Linked DNA regions of Homo sapiens: regions 1, 2 and 3 are each linked to region 4. The links are contacts of gene promoters, found by promoter capture Hi-C in blood cells and fetal thymus (Javierre and others, 2016). All regions are on one chromosome and are shown on one strand. Each heading gives the region's core, a stretch centred on a gene start or on the middle of the fragment in contact. The rest is flanking DNA. Distances are from core to core; before and after follow the strand shown. Region 1 has its middle 4.9 kb from the start of S100A8. Region 2 overlaps RAB13 (RAB13, member RAS oncogene family). Region 3 has its middle 3.5 kb from the start of S100A9. Region 4 holds the start of SNAPIN (SNAP associated protein).

What was found. Contacts are between HindIII fragments. The CHiCAGO score rates a contact against its expected background, and 5 or more counts as called.
Region 1: a contact is called between a fragment that was not itself captured here and the fragment with the promoter of SNAPIN in region 4, in 2 of 17 cell types (M1 macrophages and M0 macrophages). The highest score is 5.4, in M1 macrophages.
Region 2: a contact is called between a fragment that was not itself captured here and the fragment with the promoter of SNAPIN in region 4, in 12 of 17 cell types (fetal thymus, M2 macrophages, neutrophils and 9 more). The highest score is 9.3, in fetal thymus.
Region 3: a fragment that was not itself captured here is called in contact with the fragment with the promoter of SNAPIN in region 4 in 1 of 17 cell types (M0 macrophages); the score reaches 5.5 in M0 macrophages.

What each region holds. Positions count from the first base shown.
Region 1 is chr1:153,384,788-153,387,487 of GRCh38, forward strand. No RefSeq gene overlaps it. Among named protein-coding and RNA genes, the nearest start is that of S100A8, 4.9 kb to the right of the region's middle. The HindIII fragment of the contact is 1,186 bases long and covers 792-1,977 here.
Region 2 is chr1:153,981,430-153,984,129 of GRCh38, forward strand. RAB13 (RAB13, member RAS oncogene family) reads right to left here. Exons shown (of 8, transcript NM_002870.5): 3 at 2,092-2,152; 4 at 1,790-1,867; 5 at 1,290-1,379; 6 at 1,106-1,171; 7 at 962-1,015; 8 at 221-747. The coding sequence ends at 670. Among named protein-coding and RNA genes, the nearest start is that of RAB13, 3.6 kb to the right of the region's middle. The HindIII fragment of the contact is 3,017 bases long and covers 1-2,700 here.
Region 3 is chr1:153,353,053-153,355,752 of GRCh38, forward strand. No RefSeq gene overlaps it. Among named protein-coding and RNA genes, the nearest start is that of S100A9, 3.5 kb to the right of the region's middle. RefSeq lists a silencer at 699-748. The HindIII fragment of the contact is 1,897 bases long and covers 420-2,316 here.
Region 4 is chr1:153,657,326-153,660,025 of GRCh38, forward strand. SNAPIN (SNAP associated protein) reads left to right here and starts at 1,378. Exons shown (of 4, transcript NM_012437.6): 1 at 1,378-1,561; 2 at 1,813-1,859; 3 at 2,123-2,241. The coding sequence starts at 1,419. RefSeq lists an enhancer at 1,144-1,223. The HindIII fragment of the contact is 14,460 bases long and covers 1-2,700 here.

The DNA of each region.
Region 1 (2,700 bases), core at 135-2,634, 270 kb before region 4:
AGGGGAGCACGTGTAACTCCGGTCAGGGAACTGTCACTATAAAAGTCTCTAGTTGAAGTGTACAAAGCCTGTGTCAGATTTAGCCATGAGTTACATGGCAAGGTAAACTGCATGATGAGCCTGCTTTCCCATACCATTGACCATGTTTAAAATCTGTCTGATTTTATGTCTATGTTCTAGGTAACCTGCATTGAGGCCATCACTCTCCAATCAGAACCACCGATGGCTGTTGGGGCCCCATTCAAATTGGCAACAGGCCACAGATTGACTATTCCAGCATGGAGATGCCCTGAGTACATGGGTGGCTGATTCAGCAGTGTTTTAGATCACAGGGGAATTTCCAAATCTAAGACTGGAAGGAAAGCTCCTCCGCCCAGGGAAGAAGACAGAATTGTTACTGGGGCAACCCCTAAGAGTTTAGGGCAATCAAAATGCCCAATCCTCTTGCTCTATACATAGGGAGATTATCTTTGCCTAGAGGATTGCTCACACCAGGAAAAAACTACCAGTCCTTCAGGCCCTGAGGTGTGCCAGGTAAAGTCCTGGGCAAGGAAAAGTGGCCCAAGAAAGAAGCTCATCTGGTACCTCCTCTCCCTACTCCTCACTCTGGACAGCAGAGACCCTATAGGGGATGAGGAGAAAGAGGCCAGGCAGGCAGGCGAGGAATGGCTGTCCCATCCACACCCAGGGTGGAAAACGGCTACAAGAGAGCACCTTCATGTTTTAATTAGGGTCTCTTTCTTGGAGACAGTAGAGATCTGATTCTACCTCTGCCACTTGCCAGATTCATAAGCTTTGTCAAGTTTCTGAGTCTACTCATGTACAAAATGGAAATAGTAGTTACCTCTCTCATAGGGTTGTTATGAGAAATGAGATAAGTTACCACAATGTCTTGAGCTAAAAAGCGAAATCATTAACAAAATAATTGGCCTGTGTCAAAATTTTTGTTTCAATTCATTAATGAGAGAACCAGTGAGGAAGACTTTTTTGAACTGGTTTGAAAGATATTAAGAATATGAAAGACAGTTAGAAAGTAATGTCTAAGATTCTTAATTTAGACACAAGACTAGATACAAGTCTTTTGACTTTTCATAGGGTGACAAAAACAAACCATAACAGTTTTGGGTTTAATGTCTTGACCAGCCTATAAAGCCATATTGCCCTATCCATCAGAGGTAAACTGTCTACATCATCTGTTATGAATTGCTATCAAACATGCTTTGCCGATCACTTTTCTCAAAAGTGTCAGATGAGGTCTAGTAGCAAGGACCTTCTTTTTTTCAGACAGACTCTAGCATGAGATCAAAAATATAAGCAATCATCAGTTTGCCTTTTTCCAGGTTTGAGATGATTTTTTTTCTTTCACACTGACACATAGCTGGAGCCCAGTAAGTGTTGGTAGCTTTCCCTCCCCTCTTCAGCCCATTTCAATTTAGACTGAATTCCCCCAGGCAGGAGGGCAGAAAATGGGCTGGGTTCTGGACCCAATCAAAATTGTTCTGGTTCCCAAGTGGAGGGATAAACAGGAAAATCTTTTCCATTGGAATAAGGCCTTTTGCTCAGCCACTGTAGACCGACTGCCCAAGTCCAGATTCTCTCCATGCCCTTTAAGACTTTTGTCACAACCACCAGGAACACACCTGAAGTCAGGACACTTGGGCGAAGAACTTGGAAGGAAAAGCAAGACTTCAAACAGGTCATCCTTATAGGACCCAGAAATCATAGTTGCCAGATCTGCTTCAATTGGTGAGCCAAGCACTCCTTTGTGGGCTCAAATGTTGCATGCGATTTCCTGCTAAACTACTTATTTCTAAACTTCCCACTCCCTTGTTCTTCTTTTGCAGCTGGGGAAACAGGAAACAAAGTCATCTTGCTCTGGGCCACAAGTCCTGTCTGATTCTGCCCAGTCAGTGTGGTTTCGGTAATGGGCACGGTCTTGTTTGTAAATCATCATCTCCAAGCCTGCGTCCTCTGGGAAGCTTCCAAGGCCTGCCTCTCTCACTTCTCTTCTCCAGATGGCCAGTGACAGCTGGGCCACCTCCCCTGCCCAACTGTGCACTCAAGAATCAACTGTCGACCCAATTCTTCACAACCAGTACCCATCACTTATGGTGAAACTCCAAAGGGCACCGTGGGCCACCTTCCTCTTCTGGTAGGCTCAGAAAAAGAAGACTTATTGGACTTCCAAGTAATGGCAGACAACTGAGAATAGTAACTCTCCCCAAAAGAATCCATTGACAGCAAGTCCAATAGTGCACTTTCAAGGGGAATCAAAGGCGCTGGGATAGGTTGCCCCTCACCACCCTGACACACACACACACCCCACCACCACCACTGCCACCACCAATGTGGATAGCTGAAAGGCAGAATCAGGGTACTCGCTCCTTTTTTGTACTCCTGTTACTATCTTTTCTCTTGTGAGTTCCCCTAAATGTTGAGTTGACCTGAGATGTGGCTTGGTGAACCCTGGAACCTTTCCCACCTTTTTTAGCCTGGGCCACATTCAGGTCAGCTGCTCACCTTTGCACTATATATTGGAGAAAACTATAGCAAGATCACTGTGGTGTCTCTCAGAGCTCCATAATCTCCGTTTCTGCAATGCGGAGTGTATTCCACACTCCTGACTTAAGCAGAAGCACTGGCTTGGGAGGATGGATAGATATCCTTCAGCAAAACTGAGAAGAAAGTAATTTAATGCCT
Region 2 (2,700 bases), core at 128-2,627, 320 kb after region 4:
TGGCGGAAAGAGGATATCCAGACCTTCAGATCACTCTACCTCCTGCTCTTTGCTATTTTCCTTACCAACAGAACAGCTAGGGAAGAGACAGCAGTAGGATTAGTCCTGGTTCCACAGAAACCGAGCCTGATTTGGGTAAATCAATCACTTTGAAGACACAATAATTGGATTTGAGTGGAGAACAATTCTGACAATAATCCAAGTTACCCAAAACAGGAACATTTGTGCAAATGGTGGCCTTTAATACCAAGAAAGACCATGACAAGTGACAGAACAGGAGCAAATTCCCTAGTGTAGTGCCGAGCTAGCCTTTTGCAGGACCCTAAAACCTGATCTAGTAACAGAATAAATCAGTGTATTTACATTTATGTTTGCCCTGAAAACCCAGGTAAGGTCTGAAGCCTGAGGCATCTCTCCTTCCTTTCCTCCTCCCTCTCTTCCTACCTCCTTGCCTTCTTTCACTTCCTCAATTCATTCCTCTCCCTTCTCCCTTCCTCTCTCTTCCTTTTTTTCCTTTCTGCTTTTCCCTTTTCTCCTTTTTCTCCTCATTCTCTTTACCATCTACCTATGTGACCCTCCAAGCCCCTCTGCTATTTCTCCCCTGCTCACTCCCTCTGCCGTTGTCTCCCTCAGGTTCAGCTTCCGGGGTGGGGAGGCAAGAAAGGGTCCTCAGCCCAGGGAGCACTTGTTGGTGTTCTTCTTGTCACAAGTTTTCAGGTCAGTACTGGGAGGCTTGTTGCCGTTTCCCTAGAGGGAGAAGGGCACAGGTGTCATGGTGTGAATGGATGGTTAGGGTAGGAGGGTATAAACTGTTTAAAGTAAATCCACCCTCATGAGAAATCTTAGCATTGCTCCCCGTTTTTATCAACACCAACACACACACACACACACACACACACACACACATACATACACACACACACACCCCAGAGTTGTACCTAGTCCAGCAAAACCAACTTACTGATCTCCGGCCTCCTGACTTGAGCAAGATGTCCCGGGCCAGGGAACTAAAAGCCTAAAGTGGGGAACAGAGTCAGTTTGGAGGGAGGAGAATCTACCTTCTAATACTTCCTCTCTTGGTCGGGGATGGGGGTGTGGATCTCACCTCATCCACATTCATACTGGATTTAGCACTAGTTTCGAAAAATCGGATTCCATGCTCTCGAGCCAACTATAAGGGGTGAAGTGGGAAGAGAATTGAATTAAGGACAGCAGCCAAGTCCTCTGCAATGCAACCTATCTTGGCCCTCCCAGCCCAGTTCTAGAACATTGCTCAGCCTGGCCCTCACCTTATCGGCCTGCTCCTTCTGCACCTTCCTCTTGGCCTCCATGTCACATTTGTTCCCCAGCAAGAGGCGCTCCACCCCAGCCGAGGCATTCTGGGGGCAAAAGACAAGTAAAAGTTAGGTCCTGCCGGCTGGGAGCGGTGGCTCACGCCTGTAATCCCAGCACTTTGGGAGGCCAAGGCGGGTGGATCACCTGATGCAGGAGTTCAAGATCAGCCTGACCAACATGGAGAAAACCCGTCTCTACTAAAAATGCAAAATTAGCCGAGCATGGTGGTGCATGCCTGTAATCCCAGCTACTTGGGAGGCTGAGGCAGGAAAATCGTTTGAACCTGGGAGGCAGAGGTTGCAGTGAGCCGAGATCCTGCCATTGCACTCCAGCCCGGGCAACAAGAGCAAAACTTCATCTCAAAAAAAAAAAAGTTAGGTCTTGCCTATCCTGATGGACCCCTTCATTCTCCAGGTTCTAACCAGTTTCCCCATCTCTTTTGGAGGGTCCTCACCTCCTTGATGCTTTTCATCCAGTTCTGAATATTCTCGAAAGATTTCTCATCCGTGATGTCGTATACTAGGATAATGCCCTGGGAGATGACAAAATTCACCTTGGACCATGTTCCCATTGAGGCTTCCCACTGCCCTGTAAGTGACCCCGCATCCATGGGTCTAAACACTAGGCCATGTTGGGCCCTCTGCAACCCACACTGCACCCCTCCCATTTTTACCTGCCCCAACCCCTGACCCTTTGTATTCATAATATATTCTGTAGCCTCATCCTTCATCCTTTGTTCAGACCCACACTTCATACCATGGCTCCACGGTAGTAGGCAGTAGTTATTGTCTTGAACCGCTCTTGGCCAGCCGTGTCCCTAAAGAAGGAGAAGTTTTCATGGGATGGAATAGAGGGAAGAATTCTCCAACGGAATAATTCTTCCTCTCTCACAAGAATTTAGCTTTTGTAACATGGTGGGGCAACAGAATAAGGAAACAGTAAAGGGGAACGGGATTAAAGACAGTTGAGCTGATTTCCAGAGATGGTAGTGGCCCAAGAAACAAGATGTCTTTGCTTATTCATTGAATGTTTGCTATGTGTCAAGCACTGTGTATGTATCATTTTATCTAATCCTTACTCTTTCCTTGTAAGACATGTATTATTGTCTCTATTTTAAAAATGAGGAAACACGCCAGGTGCCGTGGCTTGCGTCTATAATCCCAACACTTTGGGAGGCTGAGGCGGGTGGATCACCTGAGGTCAGGAGTTCAAGACCAGCCTGGCCAACATGGTGAAACCTCGTCTCTACTAAAAATACAAAAATTAGCCCGGCCTAGTGGCGGGCGCCTGTAATCCCAGCTACTTGGGAGGCTGAGGTCGGAGAATCACTTGAACCCAGGAGGCGGAGGTTAAAGTGAGCCTAGA
Region 3 (2,700 bases), core at 118-2,617, 300 kb before region 4:
AGAGGATGCCAAAAGCCAGATGCTGAGATACTCGCCAAAAATTTCTGCAGAGATCTGGAACCTAGGGACATAGTGAGCGCAAAAGCCAGGTTCCCAAGAGATCGGGGAGGAGAAAGGGTTGGAGCAACAGAAGCCAGGCAACAAAAGGGAATGCCAGCTTTCTCAATTTTGAAGGTGGCATGTCTGAGAAATTAGGAGGATGATGAGCAGAGGCAGCCAAGGTGGAGACAGGGGGAGAGGTCCAGACTTGGGGAAGCTTAGGTTGAATGTCTAAGAAGCCAGATCATTGGAGGGTCCTCACTGTGGATGCTGGAGCAGCCCAGCATGGGGGCAGGGAGTGCGGCTGCTCTCAGCAGAGGGCCTCAGAGACCTCAGGATGGCCAGTCAAGGGAGGCCACAAGGATGCCAGGGGTGGTCAAAGCTTGATGTGGACTGAGCCCAAACGTGGTAGAACAATGGTCTGAAGCTACCCGTGGATAGCTTCTGTAAGTCATCCTAATGCACTAGAGTCTAGAATGAGCACTGGGGAAATGGGGGATGTTAGGGCGCTTGTGGTTAGGAGACCCGTACCCAGAGATCTCCAAGGAAGAGCACTTGGGACTCCCAGCAAGGAGGAAGACAGGGAGTGGAGGAATAGGCAGCAGGCTGTGCGCAGCCTGAGTGGGGCTGGGCCTCAGGCATCAGAGTCCCTGTGAGGAGAGGGACCTGACTTCACCTGCAGGTGGAGCAAGTAAGCCAGGAGACAGTGTCCAGGGGCCATGAGGCTAGTAGTAGTCATGAAGCCCACCAAGAGTCCATCAAAACTTGGAATCTGTGCTAGAAATGACCTAAGGGTCAGCTGTCCCAATCTCCTCATGTAATGGATAAGAAAATGGAGGCCCGAACATGGAAATCACTTCTAAAGACCACCAGCAAGTCTGAGAAAGCTAAGGACTAAAACCAGCTCAGTCCCTCAGTCCGGGTCCCACTGTGTGCCTGCTGTAACACCCCCATTACAACACAGGAGGGGTAAAGCTCCCTGAAAGACCACAGTGGGAGCTGCAGAGAAGGGAAAGACAGACCCGCAGTGGGTCCCAGGCATCTGGGAAAGAGCACAGTGATTTGATGGTAGCTGCAGGAACCTCTGCCTGCTTGTTTGTTTACTTGCTTGGTTGTTTGTTTGTTTGAAATGGAGTCTCACCCTGCCACCCAGGCCAGAGTGCAATGGCGCGATCTTGGCTCACTGCAACCTCTGCCTCCCAGGTTCAAGCGGTTCTCCTACCTCAGCCTCCTGAGTAGCTGGGATTACAGGTGCGCACCACCACACCCGGCTAATTTTTTGTATCTTTAGTAAAGATGGAGGTTTCACCATGTTGGCCATGCTAGTCTCGAACTCCTGACCTTGTGATCCACCCGCCTCGTGCTCCCAAAGTGCTGGGATTACAGGCGTGAGCCACCGTGCCCGGCCACTTATTTGTTTTTTAACCCAAAAAGCCACACCCTTTTCTCCCAGTGAAAACCTCGAGTCATTGTACAGAGCCAGGAAAATTGGCCCACCCACTTCATGCCCTAGCAGAAGGCTCCGACTTTCCCTGGAAAATCAGTACCCAGAGGGGAAGACCCCCATCCCACCATCCCTCAGTCCAACCTCTGGCCTCGGCTGGCAGTGAGGAGGCAGGTGGGTGTCGGCCACCTACTGATCATGCCAGGAATTGTCTGCTCCGGTCAGAACCAGAATGGCTCAGCCCTGGCCTCACCTGCGCCTGGGCTAGCCTGGAACCTGGGGGCCTGCAGTGGCCTTCTAAGATGGGGGCCCACTGTCAGCATCAGATCCCCCAAGTGCAGATTCCCGTCTGTTTTGAAACCCTGACCAGCTGCTCATTCCCACCCACTGCTGAGCCTTCTCTCCCCCAACTCCCTATTTTACTTTCATTCTGAATCAGCACTAAATGACCACAGTCAGTGGCTCTGCAGAAAGTCACAGAACAGAGGGTGACAGGCCAGTGTTTATGTCACATTCACTCATTTCATCATTGATTCATGCACTCCTGAATTTATTCAATCAACAAGCGTTCATCCAGTGCCTCTGAGCCAGCCCTTGCCTGGTGCTAAGACTTTGGAGGGTAGCAGGCAGCATCCCTGCCTAGAGGAGCCACAGTGGTGTGGAGGAATCAGAAAGTCCACCTGAAAGTTGAGAGCTCCATGACAAAGCAGAGATGCCTGCCGCACACCATCACTCAGGGTTTGAGTCACACACACCCTGCTTCATTGTCATGCTTTTTTTGTTTTTATTTTAAATTAATGGACAAATTGTATTAAACAGGAATTTTCATATAAAGCTTCAGATGTCCTGGGCCCTCAGGAGGTCCAAGAACATCTGGTCTACTTTCCCACGTGGCAGCCCTGGCCTGACACTGGCTGTCCCTTCAAGGTAGGAACGTTCTCATTCCCCACAGTTGCCACCACTGTCCAGTGTCCCCAACCCTGAGGCCCCATATCAGTGGCCACAAGTTGCCCTACTGCTGCCGTTGATGTTCTCATGCCCCACCAGCTTCACCTTGGGTCTGGTTCCCGCAAGGGTGAGTTGGAGATCCTTGGTCCTGAGTGAGAAGTGCTTTGTCAGAGGCAGCAGAGGGCGCCATGGGAGCACACAGGAAGGGCGCCTGGGGCTGTGCAGGGACTGCAGAACAGGCTGCACTGGCACACAGGGTTGGCTGCTGG
Region 4 (2,700 bases), core at 128-2,627:
TTTTTTTTTTTGAGATGGAGTCTCGCTCTGTCGCCCAGGCTGGAGTGCAGTGGCGCGATCAGGGCTCACTGCAAGCTCTGCCTCCCGGGTTCACGCCATTCTCCTGCCTCAGCCTCCCGAGTAGCTGGGACTACAGGAGTCCGCCACTGCGCCCGGCTAATTGTTTGTATTTTTAGTAGAGATGGGGTTTCACCGTGGTCTCGATGTCCTGACCTCGTGATCCACCCGCCTCGGCCTCCCAAAGTGCTGGGATTACAGGCGTGAGCCACTGCGCCTGGCCGCCTGGCTAATTTTTTATTTCCTGTAGAGACAGAGTCTCACTAGGTTTGTTGCCCAGACTGATCTCGAACTCCTGGGCTCAGGTGATCCTCCCGCCTCAGCCTCCCAAAGTGCTGGGATTACAGGAGTGAGCCACCATGCCCTGCCTGCATGTTTATATTATTCAGCCTTAAAAAGGAATGAAATTCGGATACATGCAGTTTTTTACATATTTAATGCCATTAAAAATATACTCTTTAGAAATAGACCAGGCGTGGTGGCTCACGTCTGTAATCCCAGCACTTTAGGAGGCTGAGTTGGGAGGATCACCTGAGCCCAGGAGTTCGAGACCAGTCTGGGCAACAAACATAGTGAGACCTCTTCTCTACAGAAAATGAAAAATTAGTCAGGCATGGTGGCTAACACCTGTGGTCCCTGCTACTTGGGAGACTGAAGCAGGAGGACCTCTTGACCCCAGGAGGTGAAGGCTACAGTGAGCCAAGACGGTGGCACTGCACTCCAGCCTAGGCGACAGAGAGAGACCTTGTCTTAAAAACAACCAACCACAATAAACTCTTTAGAAATAGAAAACGATACTATGAATATAATGTGGCTTTCTCATAAAGTGTTTTTGTTTTTGGTTTGTTTTTGTTTGGTTTGGGTTGCTTTTTTTTTTTTTTTTTTTTTTTTTGAGGCGGAGTCTCTCTGTTGCCCAGACTGGAGTGCAGTGGCGCGATCTCGGCTCACTGCAATCTCCGCCTCCCGGGTTCAAGCGGTTCTCCTGCCTCAGTCTCCCAAGTAGCTGGGTGCCCGCCACCATGCCCGGCTATCTCATAAAGTTAACATGGGAAGGCTATGGACAACTGCAGGTATTCGCGTTTATTTTCACCTTTAAAGAAAACGAAAAGTATCCACTCCAAAAACTGGTTCCTTTCTACAACCTGAACTTTGGAGATTTTCAAGACCAGCCACAAGGCCTCTACTCCTACGGCCTGGCCCTCCTCCCCGCCCGGTTCGCGCTAGACTCCATTTCCCAGAAACCCCGGTGTCTTGGTGGAGACAGCATTTCCCGGGCGCCCCCTCACGGGGCGGGGCAGTGCGGCGCGGCTCCGGTTCCCGGCGGCCCTCGCGGCAGGTTTCGGGCTTCAGGACAATTCGTGATGGCGGGGGCTGGTTCCGCCGCTGTATCGGGGGCAGGGACCCCGGTGGCGGGGCCCACAGGCCGCGACCTTTTCGCCGAAGGGCTGCTGGAGTTCCTGCGACCCGCTGTGCAGCAGCTCGACTCTCACGTACACGCCGTCAGGTGCCCGGGAGGGAAGTTGGGGGCGGGGCCTGTCTCTCTGGCTTTGTAGGGGCGGGGCCAAGAAAGTGTTCTGGCTGGGAGTGGGCATAAATTTAGGAAACTGATTCGAGGCGGGGAGGACAGGCGGGAAGGCCGCAGGTGGAGGGTTCAGCGGAGGCCGGCTTCTCTCAGTACTTGGTAAATACGTAGGGGAGTTCGTTTCCTGAGCTCCGGTAACTGCCTGACCTTGTAGGCCTTGTACCTCTTTGCAGAGAGAGCCAGGTAGAGCTCCGGGAACAAATTGACAACCTAGCCACAGGTGAGTGAGCATCCCTGTGTACCCGGAATTCTTCAGCCCACTTTCAGGACCTTAGGTTTTTGCCAACCCCTGGGCTGAGTTTCTGTCACTTGCTTCCAGGGCATCAGGGCTGCCAAAGGACTCCTCCTTTCAGGGATGTCTTAAATCTCTAATGGCTGTGGCCCGTTTGGGTGCAAGTGTTTTCCATCCCATTACCAGCCTGCTTTCCCTCAGAACAAGAGATAAGCCGTTAGATCTTAGCTGCACCTTACTTCCATCCCCAGAACTGTGCCGCATAAATGAGGATCAGAAGGTGGCCCTGGATCTTGACCCCTATGTTAAGAAGCTACTTAATGCCCGGCGACGCGTTGTCTTGGTTAACAACATTCTACAGAATGCTCAGGTAAAAGAATATCTTACCAACAGTGATTCTTTGCCCTTTTTTGTAAGTCCTCAACACAGTGAAAGCCACTGTAATTTTAAAATTCTTTGGGGAAAGGGAAATTCACTTCTCCCAGTACTTGAAAAATACCTAGGAAAATTCGTCTCATTCTCACTATTCAGTTGCTGCCATTTACATTCTTGTGTGTGTGTGTGTGACAGTCTCCCTCTGTCACCCAGGCTGGAGTGCGGTGGCTCAATCTCAGCTCGCTGCAACCTCCGCCCCCTGGGCTCAAGCAATTCTGCCTCCGCCTCCCGAGTAACTAGGACTACAAGCGTGCACAACGCCCAGCTAATTTTTGTATTTTTTTGTAGAAGTAGGGTTTCTCCATGTTGCCCAGGCTGGTCTGGAACTCCTGGGCTCAAGTGAGCTTCCCACCTTGGCCACCCGAAGTGCTGAGACTACAGGAGTGAACCACCA